3 separate regions of the Homo sapiens genome follow, and all the other regions are linked to region 2. The links are contacts of gene promoters, found by promoter capture Hi-C in blood cells and fetal thymus (Javierre and others, 2016). All regions are on one chromosome and are shown on one strand. Each heading gives the region's core, a stretch centred on a gene start or on the middle of the fragment in contact. The rest is flanking DNA. Distances are from core to core; before and after follow the strand shown. Region 1 overlaps INTS14 (integrator complex subunit 14). Region 2 holds the start of RAB11A (RAB11A, member RAS oncogene family). Region 3 has its middle 2.6 kb from the start of HACD3.

What was found. Contacts are between HindIII fragments. The CHiCAGO score rates a contact against its expected background, and 5 or more counts as called.
Region 1: a contact is called between a fragment that was not itself captured here and the fragment with the promoter of RAB11A in region 2, in 3 of 17 cell types (fetal thymus, endothelial precursors and total CD8 T cells). The highest score is 6.8, in fetal thymus.
Region 3: a contact is called between a fragment that was not itself captured here and the fragment with the promoter of RAB11A in region 2, in 2 of 17 cell types (fetal thymus and total CD8 T cells). The highest score is 10.0, in fetal thymus.

What each region holds. Positions count from the first base shown.
Region 1 is chr15:65,579,657-65,583,672 of GRCh38, forward strand. INTS14 (integrator complex subunit 14) reads right to left here. Exons shown (of 12, transcript NM_001394796.1): 11 at 2,298-2,363; 12 at 1-3. Among named protein-coding and RNA genes, the nearest start is that of INTS14, 29 kb to the right of the region's middle. The HindIII fragment of the contact is 5,930 bases long and covers 1-4,016 here.
Region 2 is chr15:65,868,147-65,872,221 of GRCh38, forward strand. It overlaps RAB11A (RAB11A, member RAS oncogene family), which reads left to right and starts at 1,345. Exons shown (of 5, transcript NM_004663.5): 1 at 1,345-1,479. The coding sequence starts at 1,440. TRQ-CTG1-4 (tRNA-Gln (anticodon CTG) 1-4) reads right to left here and starts at 987; the gene lies at 916-987. RefSeq lists an enhancer at 1,159-1,218. The HindIII fragment of the contact is 828 bases long and covers 1,195-2,022 here.
Region 3 is chr15:65,525,749-65,529,876 of GRCh38, forward strand. No RefSeq gene overlaps it. Among named protein-coding and RNA genes, the nearest start is that of HACD3, 2.6 kb to the right of the region's middle. RefSeq lists an enhancer at 3,039-3,539. The HindIII fragment of the contact is 4,122 bases long and covers 407-4,128 here.

The DNA.
Region 1 (4,016 bases), core at 1,245-3,744, 290 kb before region 2:
CTCCTGAAACAAGACAGAAAATCACCAATGCTCCTGAAATGTGTTCCTAACACATACTTTCTAAGTGCTCAGCTTAGCATAAGTTCTCCTTGACTGAACTTTAGGGAGCAATTTTATATGAGAACAAATGTTTATTTAGGGATGCCAGTAACAAGAATGTGATGGTTTTACTGGGAAGTGGTTCCTCTGCAGGTGACCAGAAGCAGGCTAAGGAAGACAGCTGAATGAAACAACGTCATCATCACAGTTAATGAGCATTTATGCCACATGTGGTAGTCAGCACTTTGCATCCATCATTTCGTTACTCCTAACTTTAAGGAGGAGTACTTTTCCCCTGTTATTTAGGTATGGAAAAGACTTGCCCTCAATCTGAAAACGCTCTTAACCCTCTGATGCCACTGTGGTGGGGCCTCAGGCTAAGACAATAAACAGGCTCAAGAGGAGGCCCTGGAGGAGTCAGAGTGGAAAGACCAACAAAAAGAAAGGCTGGTTACTGATAGAAGCAGAGAAATATGAAGTGCCCCAACAACCCCTTAGTGGAGTGGTCTGGGCAAGTTATATAGCCTCTCTGGGTCTCAAAGGCCTCATTTATAAAATGAGGAGAATAACCCCTTCCTTACCCACTGCAGAGGCTGAAGCACTTTCCCTAGGCCCTTTTGAGCTCTAATATGTAGCATTATATAAAACCAGAAAAGAGAAATGGGCTCTCTGACCATCTTTCTACTATCATCTGTTAAAAAAGTGGAAAGTTAAGAAGAAGGCCAAACAAGTGTGTCATCATGAGTAAATAGCTGATGACTGTAGGAAGCTCTGCAGGGAGGATGGACTGTGTGGATTATGGGCTTCAGTTTAGGGAGGGGCCTGGCTGGCTAAGAAGCTCTCCAGTTGAACTCTTGATTAAAGCTGTTTTATTTCACCAGCTTACTACATAATTAAGTTTGAAGACAACAGTGACATAAAGGTAATGAGATAACACCCAGACAAAGTAGCATGTATCTTCTCTGGTTAAGATGCTAGCCTAAGGCTGGCTGTGTGTGCCACATTTTAGAATTAGAAAGCTAAGACACAAATGACATACTTTATGCTGCACTTAATTTAATTCCAGCCAAACACCAGAACAATAGGGGAGAATCAAGGAGCAAACCTAAATGTTCCCCACTCTACCCCACCCCCTGTAACTTAACAGTCTCTTCACCAATCGTTCTGGATTAGCTGCATATGATTCTGCAGGGCTATCTCCTCTGCAATTCATAAATGTGTAATGTTAGATATCATTCCTAGAAGCAGAGTCTCTGGTGCAATAAAAATGTTCTGGGGTGGCCAGGTGGGGTGGCTCACGCTTGTAATCCCAGCACTTTGGGTGGATCACCTGAGGTCAGGAGTTCGGGACCAGCCTGGCCAACACAGCGAAACCCCATCTCTACTGAAAATACAAAAATTAGGCCGGGAACGGTGGCTCACGCCTGTAATCCCAGCACTTTGGGAGGCCGAGGCGAGCGGATTACCTGTGGTCAGGAGTTCAAGACCAGCCTGGCCAACATGGTGAAACCCCGTCTCTACTAAAAATACAAAAATTAGCCGGGCATGGTGGCACACACCTGTAATCCCAGCTACTTGGGAGGCTGAGGCAGGAGAATTGTTTGAGCCCGCGAGGCGGAGGTTGCAGTGAGCTGAGATCGTGCTACTGCACTCCAGCCTGGCCGACAGAGTGAGACTCTGTCTCAAAAACAAAAAAACAAAAATTAGCTGGGCGTGGTGGCACGTGCCTGTAGTACTAGCTACTCAGGAGGCTGAGGCAGGAGAATCACTTGAACCTGTGAGGCAGAGGTTGCAGTGACCCAAGATTGCACCACGACACTCCAGCCTGGGCAACAGAGTGTGACTCCATCTCAAAAAAAAAAAAAAAAAAAAAAAAAAAAAAGAATGTTCTGGGCAATTCCCCATCCAGGAAGCCACATACATTGGTTGCCTGGGGTTGGCCTGGATACCCATATAGGAGTGATGAGGAGAGTTCAGGGCTATGACCCACAGGTCCTCTAAGCTGCTTCCATCAGTCATTCATTCACAGCAGCCCCAACACAGAAAAACCTTCTGCCTGTACAGAATTAGGCCATTTAAATTCTTCCAATTCTTGGATTTTAGGGAAGGAACAGACCTATCACTTTTACTGAGTTTATTTGAAAAAACTGAGGCACAAGTCATACATCTCTAACCCCTGCCCATATTCACACTGCCATCTCACAGTTTTACTGTCGTGAACCATATATTTTGGGCACATCCTCTTCTGTCTGTCTCACCTTATAGAATGTCTGTGTTTTTTCAGGTAGTTTCCTTGCATTTCTTAAAATCTTCTGTACATCTGTCTATTAAGGGTAAAAAAAAAAATCCAACATTAGAATTCTGTGGTAAAAAAGGGAAATAATATAAAAGAATGGATCTAAATGTTTAAAGAGATGAAAATGAGAACACAGCTACAATGTCAAGATGAGGATCCCTTCTGAGTTAATGTCAGTTCAACATTAGTAAAGCACTCCCTCCTTCAAAAGGCTTGACAGTAAAATAAATCCCCTGACAGAAACGAACTTGCCTCATAAAAATGTACCCAGTAAACCCATACATCTATTGCCAGGGACTTTTTTGCAAAGACGATTCAATGGGGAAAAAATAGTCTCTTCAACATTTGGTGCTGAGACAACTGGATATCCACAAGCAAAAGAATAAAGTTGGACCCTTACATCATACCATATACAAAAAACTAACTCAAAATGGATCAGAGACCTACATGTAAAAGCTAAAACTATAAAACTCTTAGAAAAAAACGGGCCAGGTGCAGTGGTGTGCCCCTGTAATCCTAGCTACTCAGGAGGATTGCTTGAGGCCAGAAGTTTGAGACCAGCCTGGGCAACGTAGTGAGATGTGTTTCTCAAGAGAAAAAGAGAAGAAGAAAAAGAAAACACAGCGGGTAAATCTTTATGACTTTGGATTTGGCAATGATCTCTTAGTTAAGACAGCACAAAGCACAAACAACAAAAGCAAGAGACAAAATTTGACTTCTTCAAAACCAAAAACTTTGTGTATCAAAGGACACTATAAAGAGAGTGAAAAGATAACTCACAAAATGGGAGAAGATATTTGCAAATCATGTATCTGCTAAGGATCATAATATCCAGAATATATAAAAAACCCAACAACAAAAAGACAAACCCAATTAAAAAATGGACAAAGAACTTGAGTATATACTTCTCCAAATAATATACACAAATGGCCAATAAGCACAGGAAAAGATGCACATTATTGGTCATCAAGGAAATGCAAAAACAAAGACATACCACTTCACACCTACTATGATAGCTATATGATAATAATAATAAAAGGAAAACAATGAGTATTGGTAGGAACGTGGAGAAACTAGAACACTTATACACTGCTAGCAGAAATGTAAAATGGTGTGGCTGCTGTGAGAGAGTGTGGCAATTCCTCAGTAAGTTAAAGAGAATTGCTGTCTGACCCAGCAATCCCATTCCCATTAAAATATATACCCAAGAGTATTGAAAACAAATGTTCAGACCAAAACTTATACATGAATGTTTGTAACAGCATTATCCACAATAGCCAAAAGGTAACCCTAATGTCCGTCAACTGAGGGATAATCAAAATGTGACATATACATATAGACATATGGAATATTAGCCATAAAAAGGAATGAAGTACTGATACATACTACAACATGAATAAACCTTGAAAACATCATGCTAAGTACAAGAAGTCAAACACAAAAGGCCACAAATTGTATGATTCTGTTTACATGAAATATCTAGAATAGGTAAGTCCATAGAGACAGAAAGAAAATCAATGGTTGCCAGGGCCCGGAAGAAGGAATGTGGAGTGACTTTCCTAATGGGCACAGGGTTTCCTTTTGGAGTGATTAAAATGTTCTGGAACTAGAGAGTGGTGATGGTACATTGTGAATGTACTAAATGGGACTGAATTGTGTACTTTAAAATGGTTGAAGGTAC
Region 2 (4,075 bases), core at 95-2,594:
CCTTGGCCTCCCAAAGTGCTGGAATTAAGGCCTGAGCCACCGTGCCCAGCCCATTTTCTACTTTTAAGGACCTTATGACAACACTGGGCCCACCCAACTAATCCAGGATAATATCCCTAATTTAATGTCAGCTGATAAGCAACCTTAATTTCATCTGTAACCTCAATTCCCCTTTGCCATGTAACCTAACCTATTCAGTCTCCAGGAATTGGGAAGTGGACATCATTGGCAGGGGGCATTATTCTGCTTGTTATAGGCATACTTGCCCACAAGTCTAAATCGAGAGTTTGCATATAGGAGGTAGGAGGTGTGACAATAATTGGATAAAGGCTTTTCTGGAATGACAAAATTCTCTTCAAATACAGGGAGGCCCTGCGACATGATATCTGGCAAATCACTTGAGTCTTAGTATCCAAACTTCCGCTAAAATGGAAATTACCATCCTTTGCTTGGCATGTTAAATGAAATACTTATGTAAACGGACTTAGATTAGAGGCCTACAAATAGGACTCAAGTTCTTGATGAATCTTGATGAGGAGGGTGGGCGAAGTACTCTAAATGAAAATGAGATAGATTGCGAGATTTCCGGAGAGGAGTGAGTGACAAGCGCCTACCCGTGCATGAAGCTGGAGGTAGAAAATTCCAGCAAAAGGAATTTTCAAGTTTCACTGAAGCTTTTGAATCAAGGCTTGAAAGCCCAGGGTTAAAAAAAAGGCAGTGAAGAAGCTCATTAAGACAACCCCCCGCCAGGTAGCAGATAGCACCTGAAATGCAGTGGGAAATTTGTGAGGTCTTCATAGGCAAGGATTAAATTTTACATCTCCATCTTAAGATGTGTCATAGTTGTTCAATTACTTAGTGACCAAAAAAGTGAATTAAAGATGTTGTCAAGATTAAAAAAACAAAAACCAATGCAGGTTCCACCGAGATTTGAACTCGGATCGCTGGATTCAGAGTCCAGAGTGCTAACCATTACACCATGGAACCGCCACGCATGTGTAGCTGCCTTCGGCTGTCTAATCCTCAGAGAACCCCGCCCCCATCCACAAACCCACCACTCACAGGCGGTCCCGCCTGGTTCCAGCGAGCCGCTTCCGGCACGGTAGCTCGAGAAATGAGCAAGCGGCCACTAAGACTATGGTAGCTAGGAGTTCCAGGACTCAGTTTCCCCTTTGAGCCTCCTTTAGCGACTAAAGCTTGAAGCCCCACGCATCTCGACTCTCGCGCACACCGCCCTTGTTGGGCTCAGGGGCGGGGCGCCGCCCCCGGAAGTACTTCCCCTTAAAGGCTGGGGCCTGCCGGAAATGGCGCAGCGGCAGGGAGGGGCTCTTCACCCAGTCCGGCAGTTGAAGCTCGGCGCTCGGGTTACCCCTGCAGCGACGCCCCCTGGTCCCACAGATACCACTGCTGCTCCCGCCCTTTCGCTCCTCGGCCGCGCAATGGGCACCCGCGACGACGAGTACGACTACCTCTTTAAAGGTGAGGCCATGGGCTCTCGCACTCTACACAGTCCTCGTTCGGGGACCCGGGCCACTCCCGGTGGACCCTCGTGCCGGCCACCCCTGCACTGATATAGGCCTCCCTCAGCCCTTCCTTTTTGTGCGGTTCCGTCTCCTACCCAGCTCAGCCTCTTCTCCCCCGCTCAGACAGGGGTCCCCATCACATGCCGCTCTCTGAGCGACCTCTCCATAGGCCTTCGCTGGCCTCAGAGCCCCTCCCTGCGTGTCCTTCCCCTGGCGGACTGCCTTCTCCCACATCGTCGAATTCCTTTCCCCGGGTTCTACGGCCCCGCCGCTCCTCCCACCATCTCTCTTTTCGGGTGTAGCGCCCCCTCCCCCTCGGCGTACACCCTTCCCAGCTCGCGTCCTCTCCCGAAGCCCCTCTGACGGGTTCTTCGCTTCCCTCTTGGCCTTGCCTTCGGTGCAGACTCCCATTACAGGTCTTTTTCTTATCTGCCCTCTTTCCCCCCTCGAGCGAGCGTCTCTTCTGTATCTCCCCTCCACTTGGACGGCCGCCCCTCTAAGCTTCTCCCATCCCGGGTCCAGGACCCCGTAAAATCTGAGCGGGCCAAGGGCCTCCGCCCCCACCCTCCGCCCCGCGGTTCTCGCGGTCCTTAACCTTCTCTGACCGCTCCCTCTCCCACTCCCCATTTGGCAACTCTCTCTACCTTCCCTCCCCAAATCGTGTTTAGAGCTCCCTTGTCTCCGTTGCGACCTGGGTGGTGGGAGGGAGGGTAAGAGGGATCGCCCATCACCCACTCGCGCACTTGTCGCAGTGACCCGGCAGGCTGACATTACTTCCCACCTAGCCTTTTCTTTTCTTGCCCTCCCTACTCAGTGGCACCCAACCCGGGATAACTCTTTACTCGGTTCGCGAGATGAGGTTGCGGATGGGTGGTGGCTGTTATCCTTGCCAGACCTGAAGGCCTGGTTCCTGAGCAGGAAAGGTTGTGCGCTGCACAAATACTAGCTTGCTTTATCTCTATGAACTGGTTGCTTCCTGCTGCAACGCTGGGAGGATCCAACAGGAAGGGAAGAGCCCTAGTTAGCCACATACCTTTCCCAAAAGGTTGGGGGTGGGAGGAAGTTGTGTGCTCTTTTGGTTACATTAAATATTTATTATAAGATACGGAAACATGTAGTGCCCTTGGACAGAACATATTGGAGGGTCAGGGTTGGTTAGAAAGAATTGCTTATTGGTTGAGTCCGGAAGGAATCCGGTTTTTTTTTTTAATCAACGAAGATAAAGGGTACATTTTTCAATGAGAAGAGAGTACAGTAGATGCTTTTTTTGTTCAGTGAATGCACTCTCACTCTGATGCTCTTTCTCTGCTCCTGAATTGGGAAGGTAGCCATCAGTAGTGTGCCGAACAAAGATCATTACCACTGAGGAAGAAGCCATTGCTATTAAAGCTTTACTGTGGAGGGTGGAGTTTCAAGAGTGTTAAGCATGGTGACTGTTTCTGTCTTTGCCATTGGGTGCTAAGAATGATTGACTAAACCAAGCAGGAAAGATTTCTTTGCTTTCCCAATACTTTGCAAATCTTGTTATACTAACTAGTCTGCTGTTATACTCTTATCATCTCTTACTCCTCTGACTCAGAATATTCTACTGTATAGGGTGAATACTTTTGGTATCCACCCTCCCCCTCCATACTGGAAAGTACTTTCAGGGTACTTAGTTCATTTTACAAATACAAAACTGAGGCCTGGATTACAAAAAGTATATGACAGCATACCTTTTGCCGAAGGTATCTGAGATGATGTGAAACTATTTGAATCTCTTGAGACTTTGGGGTTAAAGGTTAGGTTTGTGTTTTGAAATATGGTATAATGGTAGTGTGCTTTTATAAAGGTTGTCTTTGAAGTAATTAATTCAGAACAAGATAGACCGTCAGGGTATTTCTCCTGTTTGGTTTGAACTTGAATGTTGGTTATACAAGGTCCTTTTATTTTTTAACAAAGAATATTAAATATTCTGAATTGGCCTAAAGTATTTTAACTTTTTGATTAGACCATCCTTCTAGCAACAATTGAGAGCACTGAGCTTTGGAATCACGTAGACCTCGGTTTAGATCCTGACTCAGGTCTTATATTTACTTTATGACCTTGGAAAAGTTAACTTTTCTGAGTCTCAGTTCTCTACTTTATAAAAAGGAAAATACCTGCCTCTTAAGATTGTGAGAATTAAATAATGAGACTGTTCGTAAAATTTTAACCATGAGGACTCAATAAATGGTAATAATGTGAAAGAAGTTACTGTGGTTTTGTCAGTTTTTTTTTTTTTTTTTTTTTTTTTTTTTGGAGACAGGGTCTCGCTCTGTCCCCCAGGCTGGAGTGCAGTGGCACAATCAAGGCTCACTGCAGTCTCGGCCTCCTCAGGCTCAGGTGACCCCCCGACCTCAGCCTCCCTAGCTACTCTCTAGCTCCTAGGAGTAGCTGAGACTACAGGAGCGCGCCACCACGCCCGGCTAGTTTTTTGTTTTTTTGTAAAGACAGGGTTTTGCCATGTTGCCCAGGCTGGTCTCGCACTCCTGGACTTAAGCAATCCACCTTCCTCAGCCTCCCCAAGTGCT
Region 3 (4,128 bases), core at 1,218-3,717, 340 kb before region 2:
AAGGATGTGTATGACCCCTTGCCAAAGGCAGGAAATCAGCCTTCAGCCCTGGGAATGAGCTTAATCCATGGCAAGTACTCAGCAAATGCTTCCTGTAGTTAGTGGTGACTATTCTCTGAGAAGGGAGAGCTGGCCCTTGGCCAAATGAGGCTGGGAAGGCTGCATCTAGAAGGTAGGACAAAAAGACAAGGCTAAATTTGCATTTTCATTTGACCGATAGTATCATAAAACTCTTAGCCCTACCTATTTCAGCTTGGCACTGCCACTTGGCTCTGCCTTTTAATCTCCCCTGCCACCTTCCAGCGTATTTTGGTTTGCTTTTTTTTTTTTGAGACAAGGTTTTGCTCTGTTGTCCAGGCTGGAGTGCATCGGTGCCATCACAGTTCACTGCATCTCTGACCTTCCAAGCTTAAGAGATCCTCCCAGCCTCCTTAGTAGCTAGGACTACAGGCACATGCCACCGTACCTGGCTAATTTTTAAAATTTTTTATAGAGATGGGGTCTCACTGTTTTGCCCAGGCTGGTCTCGAACTCTTAAACTCAAGCGATCCTCCCACCTCAGCCTCCCAAAGCATTGGGATTACAGCATAAGCCACCATGTCCAGCCCCACCCTGGAGTTTTATAGTTCACCAGAATGATACTCTTTCTTCTCTCCATTTCTATTTTTTTTCTTGTTAGATTTCTCTTGCAGAGAGGGGTCCATAATAGTGGGGTCTCTTTGCAGAAAAATTTAGAAACAGCTGATAAGAGCATTAGAGGGAACCAAATCCAACTCATCAAATTTACCTAATTTGATGAATGTGGAAACTCAGGCCTAAAGAAGTCATTTTGCAGTATGTTACTAGTGGTCAAACCAGGCTGGATAGGCCCACTTCCACTGGACCTTTCTTATGAAGCATCTGAGGCAAAATGCCAACATTCAGTCTTCTTCTATATCAATAGCTTTCACCTTGGTAGAAGTCAGCTGATAAGCCTCAGGTTTCAAATACGCTGAATTAAAATTATTCTATTTTTTATTACCCACCTACCAGGATGGCTAAAATTAAAAACATTGGCTGGGGGTGGGGGTGGTGCTGGAAAAAAAAAATTAGGCTGGGTGCTGTGGCTCACGCCTGGGAGGCTGCAGCAGGAGGATCACTTGAGCCCAGGAGTTTGAGACCATTTGAGCCTAGAAGTTTGAGACCAGCATGGCCAACATGGTGAAACCCCATCTCTACTAAAAATAAAAAAATTAGCCAGGTGTGGTGGTGCACACCTATAATCCCAGCTACTTGGGAGGCTGAGGTAGGAGAATCATTTGAACTGCGGAGGTAGAAGTTGCAGTGAGCTGAGATCGCGCCAATGCACTCCAGCCTGGGCAACAGAGCAAGACTCTTTCTCAAAAAATAAAATAAAATAAAATAAAATAAAATTAAATTAAAAAGTCTGAAAATACTAGGGATATAGAGCAACTAGAACTTTCAAACATTGCCGTGGAATGTAAATTGACCAAAACACTTTGTAAAACTGCTTAGCACACCTACTAAAGCTAATCATACACCTGTGTAACCTAGCAATTCCCTTCATAGGTATTTATTCCAAGATAATTAAGAGCATTTATCCCCAAAAGACAGGTACACAAATATTCAGAGCAGCTTTATTTGTAATAGCTAAAAACTAGAAACAACACAAATATCCATCGATAGGAGAATGGATAAATAATTTGTGGTATACTCATATAGTCAACTACTACAGAGCAAAACCAAAAACTAAAAGAATGAATTACTGATTCACTCAGCAACATGGATAAATCTCATACACATTATGTTGATGAAAGAAACCAAGGCCCGGTGCGGTGGCTCACATCTGTAATCCCAGCACTTTGGGAGGCTGAAGCGGGTGGATCATGAGGTCAGGAGTTCAAGACTAGCCTGGCCAAGATGGTGAAACCCCGTATCTACTAAAATACAAAAATTAGGGGCCAGGCACGGTGGCTCATGCCTGTAATCCCAGCACTTTGGGAGGCTGAGGCAGGCAGATCACGAGGTCAGGAGTTAGAGACCATCCTGACCAACATGGTGAAACCCCGTCTCTACTAAAAATACAAAAATTAGCTGGGCGTGATGGCGGACAGCTGTAATCCCAGCTACTTGGGAGGCTGAGGCAGGAGAATCGCTTGAATTGGGAGGCCGAGGTTGCAGTGAGCCGAGACTGCACCACTGCACTCCATCCTGGGTGACAGAGCAAGACTCTGTCTCAAAAAAAAAAAAAAGAAAAAAGAAAAAGAAACCAGACACTGTAGGTTCCATTTATATAAAATTCAAGAACAGAACAGACAAAAAAGACTCTATGGTGATATATCAGGATAGTAATTACTGAGAGGCAAAGATATTTTAACATGAAATAACCTCTGGGATACTGGAAATATTCCAGATCTTGATCTAGGTGATAATTACATGGATATATACATATAGAAAAATTCAGCTTAAACTGAATATTTAAGATTTACCCATGTTCTATATGTAAACTACATCTCAATGTTTTTAAAAAGTGCCCCATATTGCATCTGCATTGTAGTAAACACAATACAATAAAATACCTTTATCATAAAAAATATTTTATCGTTAAAATTCAAGACTGTCAACGTCACTGCTTTCATCAACTCATTCTTGGCAGATTGCATTGGTCTCCCATTGCTTTGCCTACTACCAATTCCTCCTCCTCTCTGACAGGTCTTTCTTGCTGAGCACATTTGATTTTACTAATCTCCAGGTTAACAAACTTCCTTGGCTCCCATGTGTCTGTGGGATACAGTATAGGCACCTCAGTGAAGCAAACAAAGACTTTCCTAATGCACCCTCTGCCTTTCCAGATTCAGGGCGACCTCTCTCCTCTATGCCTTTAATCCCTAGCAGCAGAACCTCCTTCCACAACCCTCTCTCTTTTTTAAATTTTAAGACAGGGCCTCACACTGTCACCCAAGCTGGAGTGCAGTGGCGCGATCTCGCCTCCTGGGCTTAAGCAATTCTCCCACCCTAGCCTCCCGAGTAGCTCGGACCCCAGGGGCGCGCCAACCACGCCCTGCTAACTGTTGTATTTTTTGTAGAGACAGTGTATTGCCATTTTTCCCAGGCTGGTCTCAAACTCCTGGGCTCCAGCGATCCTCCCGCCTCGTCCTCCCAAAGTGCTGGGATTACACGCGTGAGACGCTGCACCTGGTCCACATCTTTTCACCTGTGAACGAAGCAAGCGCCCTGTGCTTCCACGGCCTACCTGGTTCTTACTCAGTCAAATTCCTACTCGCATTTCACCATCCCGTTCTCAAGGGTTGGCTCTCAAATGTCTGACAATGGTTCCCACGGCCCTCAGTTCCTATCATCATAAACTCTTTGTGAGCTCAGCACATTCATTATATGAAAACTCTCTATATTTTATTCTGTCCACTCTTGAGCTAAATGTTTCCAGAGAGCTAGCAGAATTTGTTTTCAGCGTTAGATCCCTCTGCTAAACAAACGGGTGCTAATAGAATCACTTTGCTAAATAAATGGGAGCTAACAGGATTGAATATGAGTTCCATTTTTGTCCCAGAGTTCTAGTTTTCATATAAATATTTCTTCCCATTAAATTCTTCTCTGCAGAAGAACTTGGGGATGAAACCCGATACAGACAAGACAGCTTAAGTAAGACATAAATGAGTGTTGTCTCTAGTTTGAGTTTCCTATTTTTTTGAGACAGTCTCCTGCACTGTCCAATAGAATAGCCACCAAAAATATGGATATTTAAGTTTAAATTAGAAGTGAATAAAGTTGGCCGGGCGCGGTGTCTCACGCCTATAATCTCAGCACTTTGGGAGGCCAAGGCGGGCGGATCACCTGAGGTCGGGAGTTCGAGACCAGCCTGACCAACATGGAGAAACCTCGTCTCTACTAAAAATACAAAATTAGCCGGTGGCGCATGCCTGTAATCCCAGCTACTCGGGAGGCTGAGGCAGGAGAATCACTTGAACCCGGGAGACAGAGGTTGCGGTGAGCCGAGATCGCGCCATTGCACTCCAGCCTGGGCAACAAGAGAGAAACTCCGTCTCAAAACAAAACAACAACAACAACAAAAAAAAAACAGAAGTGAGTAAAATTGAAAATTCGGTTATT